Regions from separate parts of the Homo sapiens genome. Here region 2 is linked to region 1. The links are contacts of gene promoters, found by promoter capture Hi-C in human tissues and cell types (Jung and others, 2019). All regions are on one chromosome and are shown on one strand. The core of a region is centred on a gene start or on the middle of the fragment in contact, and the rest is flanking DNA. Distances in the headings are between cores, read along the strand shown.

Region 1 (5,244 bases), core at 1,062-3,561:
TCTTGCTGGTGGGGACTCTGCAGAGTCTTGAGGTAGCACAGGGCATCACATGGCTAGCAGGCTGTGTGCAAGCTCAGGTCTCTCTTCCTTTTTTTTTTGAAACGGAGTCCTGCTCTGTTGCCCAGGCTGGAGTGCAGTGGCACGACTTTGGCTCACTGTAACCTCCACCTCAACCTTTGCCTTCTGGGTCCAAGTGATTCTCGTGCCTCAGCCTCCCAAGTAGATGGGATTACAGGCATCCGCCACCATGCCCGGCTAATTTTTGTATTTTTAGTAGAGATGGGATTTCTCCATGTTGGCCAGGCTGGTCTCGAACTCCTGACCTCAGGTGATCTGCGTGCCTTGGCCTCCCAAGGTGCTGGAATTACAGGCATGAGCCACTGAGCCTGGCCTTTCTTCCTCTTTTTATTTTATTTTATTTATTTTATTTATTTTTTTTTTTTGAGATGGAGTCTCACTCTGTCGCCCAGGCTGGAGTGCAGTGGTGCAATCTCAGCTCACTGCAAGCTCCAAACCAGTCCCACTCCCATGATAACCTATTTATCCATTAACACATGAATGGCACGACCTCATAACCCAATCACCTCTTAAAGGCTCCACCTCTTAATACTGTTTCACTGGGGATTAGGAACAAACATTCAAACTGTAGCAACTTGTATTTAAGAAACTACTCAGTTATCATATTTTGATTTTCACCAACAAAAATTTTATGAACTTTTCTTTCTGGTTATAGAAATACCTAAATAAGGCTGGGTAGGGTGGCTCACACCTGTAATCCCAGCAGTCTGGGAGGCCAAGGCAGGCAGATCATGTGAGGTCAGGAGTTCAAGACCAGCATGGCCAACCTGGTGAAACCCCATCTCTACTAAAAATGCAAAAATTAGCCGGGCGTGGTGGTGCGCACCTGTAGTCCCAGCTCCCCTGGAGGCTGAGGCAGGAGAATTGCTTGAGCACGGGAGGCAGAGGTTGCAGTGAACCGAGATCACACCACTGCACTCCAGCTTGGGCGAGAGAGAGCAAGACTGTGTCTCAAAAAAAAAAAAAAACCAAACAATTAAGATCCTCGATCTTCATGAGAAAATATGAACTAGAGGACATTTAGAAAAAAAAAAATCCTTGATCTTGCCTCCTGACCTGCAGAGTCTAAAATATTTGCTTTCTGTCCCTTTTATACAAAAAGTTTTGTTGATTCCTAGCCTACAGCAACACTTGATGTAGAGTTGTCAATCCATAAGCATCTGGTGGAAAAATGCTGTTAACAATAAAAATGAAACTAATCTAAAATACATGTGCATTTATTTGCACAGAAAAAAACAGGCTGGGTAAAGTAGCTCATGCCTATAATCCTAGCACTTTGGGAGGCCGAGGCGGGAGGATTACTTGAGCACAGGAGTTCAGGGCTAGTGAGCTATGATCATGACACTGCACTCCAGCGTGGGCCACAGAGCAAGACCTTGTCTCAAGAAAAAAGAAAAAAAAAAACGGATAAAGGAAAAAAAAGCGGCGGGGGCGGGGGGCAGGTATAGCCAACTAAGCATTAACCATCTCAAGAGGATCAGTTTATATCGGACGTCCACAGCAGAAATTTGCTGCTTCTGGCTATCTTTTCCCCACAATTAGCAAGGGTTAGCTTCATTATTTTAGAGGCAACCCAACTGCAGCTTTTAGAAAGGCGCTGTGCCCTCTAGGCCAGCAATTTGAGGGCATGGGTTGGGGGGTACCCCGCCCCAGTCTTCCTGACCAAAGAGTGGAGCGGAAGAAAGCCAGGAGGAGGATGTTTTGAACCTAAATACGTCCAGCTGCAATCCCAGTCAAGCTCGTCGCCCCCAGTTCTGCTCCACCTCCGGTCTGGCCGGGGAGAATGTGACAGTCGCCGCAGCCCGGGATCCACCCGGACGCACCTCACCTCGCAGTCTCCTCACTGTGCCCGCGAAAGGAAAGAGACCCTGGCCCAGGCACGAAGTCCCCAGGCCCCTGGTCGCCCGGAGGTAGCAACCAGCCAGCCCATCGGGCTGCGACGCCGACCAAGGGGCACGCCCCGCGCCCCCCGGTCTCGACTAACACCCACCCGCGCCGTTCCAGCCTTTCCGCGGCGCCGCGCGACGGGGACCCACTCTGCGAAAGTGTCAGGAAACTTCTGCGCGTGCGCGTCGCTAGCCCCTCCCGCGCGCCAGGCATCGCGCGGCTTCTTCCCGCCTGCCTCCCGCTCTCACTTCCGGAGTTTCCCAGCGACGGCCGTAAGTGGCGGGCGGAAGCGGCCCTAGAAGCCCGCCGTAAACGGCTCCCTCGCGCCACTTCCGGCCGGCTTCCGCAGACGGCGCTGGTGGTCGATCGTGTGGCGCCGGAGGACGTTCCCCGCGGCCGGAGCCATGGAGATGCCGCTGCCCCCCGATGGTGAGACCCAAACCGGCCGAGAGACCGTTTCTCTCTCCCCGGAACCTCCTATTGGCCGGCCCCGCCTCCCGGAGTCCCCGGGTCTGGGAGGGGGCGGGGCTCGGCCTCGCGGCTTCGCCTGCGGCCTCTCCCGTGGGTCCCCGCATTCCCGGCGAGCGTGTGGCCCCTATCGGGACCCGTACAAGGGCGGCCTCTTCGGGGCCCACCCCCTTGGGGTCCCCGGCAAGGCGGACGGGGGCTGGGGCGCCGAGTCCCCCGGCTTTGGGCGGTCCTCGCTGACGCCCCGCGTGGCCTTTTCTCCGTCCTCCAGACCAGGAGCTTCGAAATGTCATCGACAAGCTCGCCCAGTTCGTGGCTCGCAATGGGCCCGAGTTTGAGAAGATGACTATGGAGAAGCAGAAGGACAACCCCAAATTCTCGTTTCTTTTCGGAGGCGAATTCTACAGTTACTACAAGTGCAAGCTGGCGCTGGAGCAGCAGCAGCGTGAGTCCCCTCCGGCACTCAGGCCGTCCCATCGAGCGCTTCCTTTCTCGGATTCCAGTCCGGGCTCTGCCACAAACCTCTTTCTTTCGGGTCGTTTATTCTTTGAAGTGGAGCAGCTCGGTCCACACGATCCCTGTTCCGCTGTTCCCACGGCCCTGCACAGAGCGGCTGCTGGGTGCCACTGTAATGGAGAACAACGAGGTTTTCGATCCTCCCCCCTGGGCTCTGGATCAGGGATTTTGCTGTTGTTTTGCAGACTGATGACGGAGATTAGCAGGAGTAGCGTGATTGTTTTAGTGTTTTCTAGGGAGGAAGTGATAGAGGCCGGATGGGAGTCCATGGGACAGGCACTGTCCAGCCCCCTTTGCCGTCTCCCTGTGGGTCCAGCAAGGTTTTGTGCATTTCAGATGCCTGCAGCAGAAATCAAAAAGAATTATCCCTCTGAGTTTTAGTTATTGGCAAGTGTTTATCAATGTTCGTTCATTTAGGCAACAGGATTCCAGTCCTGCTCTAAAGAAGTTTAAAGTTAGGAAGCAGAGCTGGCCTTTGAATAATGGATAGTCACCAGGTGGTGCGGCTGCTCAGGGCAGGTATCACATCTGTCACGTTCAGTACCCAACCCCGTCTCTAGATTGTTTAAATGAATAACTAGGAGTTTGCCAGGTAGATGGACATTGAGAGGTGGTTGTCCGCTGTTTGATCGAACGCCAATTGTGTGTTATGTATTAAGGTACAATGACCCAAACAAGGTCTGTTTGGCTTCGGCGAGCGTGTAGTTCAGGGGACTACACGCTCGTCTTGTATTAAGGTACAAGGTCATTGTCCCTTAATACATAACACACAGTTGGTGTTCGATTAAACAGCTTGAAAGGAGGCCTGTTGCAGTGGCTCATACTGTAATCACAGCACTTTGGGAGTCCAAGGCGGGCAGATCACTTGAGGTTAGGAGTCTGAGACCAGCCTGGCCAACATAGTGAAACCCTGTTTCTACGAAAAATACAAAAATTAGCCGGGTGTGGTGGCCCGCGCCTGTAGTCCCAGCTACTTGGGAGGCTGAGGCGGGAGAATCGCTTGAACCCGGGAGGTGGAGGTTGCGGTAAGCCAAGACCACGCCATTGCACTGCAGTCTGAGTGACAGAGTAAGACTCCATCTCAAAAAAAAAAAAGAAAGAAAGAAAAAGAAAAGGCTTGAAAGGAGGCCAGGCGTAGTGGCTGACGCCTGTAATCCCAGCACTTTGGGAGGCTGAAGCGGGCAGATCACTTGAGGTTAGGAGTCTGAGAACAGCCTGGCTAACATAGTGAAACCCTATCTCTACTAAAATTACAAAACTTAGTCAGGTGTGGTGGCACACACCTGTAGTCCCAGCTACTGGAGAGGCTGAGGCAGAAGAATCGCTTGAACCTGGGAGCTGGAGGTTGCATTGAGCCGAGACCACACCATTGCGCTCCAGCCTGGGTGACAGAATGAGACTCCATCTAAAAAAAAAAAGCAGCTTGAAAGGAGGCCAGGCCCAGTGGCTTGTGCCTGTAATCCCAGCACTTTAGGAGGCTGAGTCAGGCGGATCACTTGAGGTCAGGAGTTCGAGACCAGCCTGGCCAACATGGTGAAACCCCATCTCTACTAAAAATACAAAAAAAATTAGCCAGGCATGGTGGTGGGCACCTGTAGTCCCAGCTACCCGGGAGGCTGAGGCAGGAGAATCGCTTGAACCTGGGAGGTGGAGGTTGCAGTGAGCCAAGATCGTGCCACTGCACTCTAGCCTGGGAGACAGCGAAACTCCATCTAACAACAACAACAACAAAAACTTGAAAGGCTGAGAGAGTAGAACATTGCAAAGGGGCAGTTTCTTGAACAAGAAACAGAGAGAGAGTTTATGTGTGTATTGCCAGGCACAGTGGCACACACCGTACCCCCAGCTACTCAAGAGGCTGAGGCTGGAGGGTTGCTTGAGCCCGGGAGTTCAGGGCTGTAGTGCGCTGTGTCGATTGAGTGTGTGCAGTAAGTTCAGTGTCAGTATGGTGACCCCCTGGGAGCTGGGGACCACTCGACTGTCTAAGGGGTGGTGAACTGGCCCAGGTCAGAAATGGAGCAGGTCGAAACTCCTGTGCCGATCAGTAGTGGCCTCACGCCTGTAAATAGCCACTGCACTCCAGCCTGGGTGACATAGTAGAGAATCTATTTAATAAAAGAATGTGCTTGTATGAGGGAAGAGTTTGACCTGGAGTGTTAACTGCCAGGGGAAAAGTTTGGGTTTTTTCACTCAATCCAGGGGTTTTTCTGATGCCTATTTAGGTTTGAGATGCGGGGGTGGGGTGGAGAGAGATCAGCTGCCTGAAATCGTAAGCAAAATATTGTATGTGCTTAT
Region 2 (5,244 bases), core at 1,405-3,904, 150 kb after region 1:
CCAGGTCCAGTCACTGCCCGCACCCCACCCTGGAGTGTGGTGGGATCACATTGCTTGCTAATTTATTTATTTATTTTATTTATTTATTTATTTATTTATTTTTTATTTTTTTTTTTTTTGAGACGGAGTCTCGCTCTGTCGCCCAGGCTGGAGTGCAGTGGCGCGATCTCGGCTCACTGCAAGCTCCGCCTCCCGGGTTCACGCCATTCTCCTGCCTCAGCCTCCCAAGTAGCTGGGACTACAGGCGCCCGCTACCACGCCCGGCTAATTTTTTGTATTTTTAGTAGAGACGGGGTTTCACCGTGTTAGCCAGGCTCGTCTCACACTCTTGACCTCAGGTGATCTGCCCACCTTGGTCTCCCAAAGTGCTGGGATGACAGGCGTGAGCCACCATGCCCGACCGATTTATTTTTTTTCAGGTGAAATTTATGTAACATAAAAGTCACTGTTTTAAAGCATCCAATTCAGTGGTATTGAGCACACTCACAGTGTTGTGCAATGATCACCTTCATCTAGTTCCACAACATTCTCATCCCCCCAAAAGGAGACCCCATCCCAATCAGCAGTCACTCCCCATTCCCTCCCGCAACCCCTGGCACCCACCAACCTATTTTCTGTCTCTATGGATTTACCTGCGTTGTTTATTATTATTATTATTATTATTATTATTATTATTATTATTATTATTATATCCAGCTCCTGCAGGATATTTTATTTATTTATTTAGAGATGGGGTTTTACTCTATTGCCTAGGCTGGAGTGCAGTGGCGCAATTATAGCTCACTGCAGCCTTGACCTCCTGGGCTCAAGCAGCCTTTCTGCCTCAGCCTCCTTAGTAGCTGATACTACAGGCGTGTGCCACCACACCTGGCTAATTTTTTATTTTATTTTTCTCTGTGTTGCCCATGCTGGTCTTGAACTCCTGGCCTCAAGTGATCCTCCTATCTCAGCCTCCTAAAGTGATGGGATTACAGGCATGAGCCATTGTGCCTGGCCAGGATATTATTATTTTTAAAGTCAATTTTATTGAGTGGCATAATTTACACAGAACAAAATTCACCCATTTTACTATGTAATAAGATGAGTTTCATTAAATATGCACGGTTGTGTGCAATTTGAGAACACTTCTGTCATTCCTGAGGCCCCTTTGTTGTCACCCTCCACCCTCTCCTCAGGGTCCCCTGGCCACCATTATCCTGTTTTCCGTCACTAGCGTTCTTACCTTTCTAGAATTTCATGTAAACGGCATCATTCTGTGATGTGTTCTTTTATGTCTGGGTTCTTTCACTTGGTATAATGTTTACTTATGGGGCATTTTTCCTTCTAGATCCATTTGGAGGGGACCCTTTCAAAGAAAGTGACCCATTCCGTGGCTCTGCCACTGACGACTTCTTCAAGAAACAGACAAAGAATGACCCATTTACCTCGGATCCATTCACGAAAAACCCTTCCTTACCTTCGAAGGTGAGTGGGGTGGGACGTTGCCCGGGAGAGCTGCGTGCCTGCTCTGTGTGGTAAGGGTGGCGCTTCCCGAAGGCCCCCTTCCCTTCGTGGAGCGTACATGGTGCCTGCGAGTGTGGGCCATGGTGTCTGTTCTCCGGGAGCTGGTATCCCAGGCTGATTTCATTCCTGCTGAGTGAGGGAGCTCACTGGCCTAGTCACTGCAGTGACATCCTGTGAGCCCCAAGGTGCAGTTAGCAGTCCAGTGGCCCCACATCAGGGCAAGGAGGATGTCACCCATAGTTCTTATTTCTCTATCCCCATTCCTACCCCTCAACTCTAGTCATCTGCCCCCACTGCCCCTTCATCTCCCAAAAAAGACTAAATCACACAAGCACCACATGCTCGCATGGACCCGGCCACCCTGCACGGTCCTTGTAACACACAGCACTGGTGGGGACCTTAGAGTCACGTTTGGTAGGTGCTCCCGTCACGGCAGGAGTAAGTGCAGGCGTCTCAGCCCGGCTGCCTTGCCTGGTGTCTCCTGAGAGCATCAGCCAACTCTGACCCTCCAGTTTCCAACTCCAGCATACCTGTACTCCCATCCCCGGGCGTGGCAGACACCGGGTATTTTGCATATTATGCCCAAGAGATTGGGTTAAATAGGTGTCAACTTGGATTTCAAAACCAAAAAAAAAAAAAAAAGCAGCCTCGGTGATGGAGCAGAGGATGTTCATGATGGAGTGAGCGTGCTTCATAGCCTTCTTCCGTTTTCTAGGCTGCAACCCAGGCCCGGGGCCTGCTCAGAGACGGGCACTCACCCTCCTTCTCAGGGCTCCTGCTACCCTGGCGCCCACCTCGCTCACTCCCTGTGGACCTTTTGGTCTTTAGCGCTTGAAGCTCCTTGAAGGCAAAGACTCATTTGCAGTATTTTCTTATTGGCCCCTTTTTAATGTCCTTAAGACCTGTAGTGAGAATTTCCCTAGCATTCCTGGTATTGGTGATCTGTTTACCAATTTCATTGACCTTTCCCATAACCAGCTTTTGGCTTCATTTTTCTCTACTGCTTGTTTTCTATTTCATTGATTTTCTCTTTTCTATTTCTATTTTTTTCCATTTCCTTACTCCTATTTATTTGGGGTTACTTTGCTCTTCTAACATCTTAAGATCCAAGCTTCATTCATTAATTTTAGACTTCATTTTCTAGTACTGGCGGTCCCTGACTTACGATGGTTCAATTTACAGTTTTTTGACTTTACAATAGTTTTATCGAGATGCAGTCCCATCATAAGTCAAGGAGTGTCTGGACTTAACATTGGTTTGACTTCTGATTTTTTGCTTTGTGATGGGTTTATTGGGATATTACGTACATTTTCAACTTAAAATATTTTCAACTTACAATGGGTTTATCAGGATGTAACCCCATGGTAAGTCAAGGAGCATCTGTATAAATTTAAAGCAACATATTTCCCTTAAGCACTGCTTTACATGTATTTCATATATTTGAATACTTTATCTCTTCATTGCCATTCAGTTTTGAGATATTTTCCAGTTTCCCTTGTGAATTCTGTTCACTTATGGATTACTTAAAAGTATGTTGTTTCATTTCCAGATACTTGGCTTTTTCTCCTAGGTATATTATAATACTATTATTATTGATTTTTAATTAAATTTGTTATTTGAGAACATATTCTGTATGTTTTCAATACCTTCACATTAATCAAGGGTTGTTGTTTGTGGCCTATGTTGGTGAACAAACCATGTACACTTGAGAAGAATGTGTATCTAGTTGTTGGGTGTAATGCTCTACAAATGGCAGTGAGGTTGAGGTTCCTCATAGTGTTCAGATTATCTGTGTCTTGTTTGTTTGTTTTTTAGTCCTACCAGTGTCTGAGAGAGAGGCGTTAAACATTCTCCTATGATTGTGGAATTGTTCATACTGCACTTTAATTTGATCAAGTTTTGCTTTGTGTATTTTGAAGCTTTGTCAGGTGCATAGGTGTTTATGATTGTTGTGTCTTTCTGACACAACAACCTTTTTATCATTATAAAAGATTCCCATTTGATCTCTGGTGATGTTCTTTGTCTTGAAGTCTGTTTAATCACTTCATTCTCCTCATGTTATTCACTACATGATACATCATTTTTCAACCATTTACTTTCAACTTACCTGGATCTTTAAAACTGATAGGTGTCTTTTGTAAGTAGCATAGTGTTGGGGCTTGCTTTTTTTTTTAAAATCCAGTCAGAAGTCCCTGCCTTGTAAGTGTAATGTTTAGTCCATTAACATTTAATGTAATTATTGATATGGTTTAAGTCTACTATTTTATTATTTGCTTGCTTTTTATCCCATGTTTTGTTTCCTGCTTTCTTTTGAATTGTTTGAATGTTTTTTTGAATTCTGTCTATTGGCCTTTTATTATTTTAATCATACCTCTTTTAATGATTGTTTAGAGGTTGCTTTAGGAAATATCATGTACAGCTTTAACTTTTCATAGTCTACTTGAGGTTAGTATTGTATTATCTCATGTAAAATATAGAAAACTTGCAACCATGTAGGTCCATTTGTCCACCCACCCTTGCAGCCAGCATGTCTTATGTTATAGCCGTCATGTGAATTTCATACATCTAAATACATTAGAAACTCCATAAGACTGTTACAATTTTTGTATTAATCCATTGTGGGTATTGTAAAGAAAGAGGAAAAAAGTAGTCATTTAGTTTTACCCAAATATGTACCATTTCTGATACTCTTCATTTGTTACTGAAGATTGGTTTTCCCTCCATTATCATTTTCCTTCAGCCTAAAGAACTTTCTTTAGCACTTCTTATAGCTCAGGTCGACTGTGTTGTCATTTTTTTATTTTTAGTTTTGAAACAGAGTCTCACTCTGTTGCCCAGGCTGAAGTGCAGTGGTGTGATCTTGGCTTACTGCAACCTCAACCTCCTGGGCTCAAGCAGTTCTCCCACCTCATCCTCCCAAGTTGCTGGGACCACAGGCATGTACCTCCACACCCAGCTATTGTTTTATTTTTTGTAGAGATGGGATTTCCATATGTTGGCCAGGCTGGTCTCAAACTCCTAGGCTCAAGCAATCCTCCTGCCTCAGCCCCTCCAAAGTGCTGGGATCACAGGCTTGAGTCACTTCACCCAGCTATTATTCTTTTCTTTTCTTTTTTTTTTTCCAACCTCCGCCTCCCAAGTTCAAGCGATTTCTGGTTAATTTTTGTATTTTTAATGCAGATGGAGTTTCACCATGTTGGCCAGGCTGGTCTTGACCTCCTGAACTGAACTCAAGTGATCTGCCCGCCTCGTCCTCCCAAAGTGATAGAATTACAGGCATGAGCCACTGTGCCAGGCCTGTTGTCATTCTTGAAGGACATTGTGTTTGATGTAGGTTGTTGGGGTTTTGTTTGTTTGTTTAGTGTGTTTTTCCACTGCCTTCCAGCCTCCATTGTCCTTAATGAGAAGAGTTTTTGTTTGTTTGTTTGTTTGTTTTTTTGAGACAGAGTTTGCTCTGTTGCCCAGGCTGGAGTGCAGTGGCGTGATCTCAGCTCACTGCAAGCTCCGCCTCCCGGGTTCACGCCATTCTCCTGCCTCAGCCTCTCGAGTAGTTGGGACTACAGGCGCCCGCCACTATGCCCAGCTAATTTCTTGTATTTTTAGTAGAGACGGGGTTTGACCATGTTAGCCAGGATGGTCTCGATCTTCTGACCTCGTGATCTGCCTGCCTTGGCCTCCCAAAGTGCTGGGATTACAGGCGTGAGCCACCGTGCCCGGTGGAGAGGAGTATTTCTTCAGGTC

What was found. The method cuts DNA at HindIII sites, captures the fragments that hold promoters and counts their contacts. A contact is called where the count stands out against the background at its distance.
Region 2: a contact is called between a fragment that was not itself captured here and the fragment with the promoter of CHERP in region 1, in 1 of the 25 tissues and cell types used here (lymphoblastoid cells).

The regions. Positions count from the first base shown.
Region 1 is chr19:16,539,504-16,544,747 of GRCh38, reverse strand. CHERP (calcium homeostasis endoplasmic reticulum protein) reads left to right here and starts at 2,311. Exons shown (of 17, transcript NM_006387.6): 1 at 2,311-2,394; 2 at 2,705-2,878. The coding sequence starts at 2,370. It also overlaps the pseudogene RN7SL146P. RefSeq lists silencers at 2,410-2,599, 2,610-2,679. The HindIII fragment of the contact is 9,580 bases long and covers 647-5,244 here.
Region 2 is chr19:16,388,524-16,393,767 of GRCh38, reverse strand. EPS15L1 (epidermal growth factor receptor pathway substrate 15 like 1) reads left to right here. Exons shown (of 24, transcript NM_001258374.3): 19 at 1,328-1,464. Among named protein-coding and RNA genes, the nearest start is that of KLF2, 66 kb to the right of the region's middle. The HindIII fragment of the contact is 3,848 bases long and covers 731-4,578 here.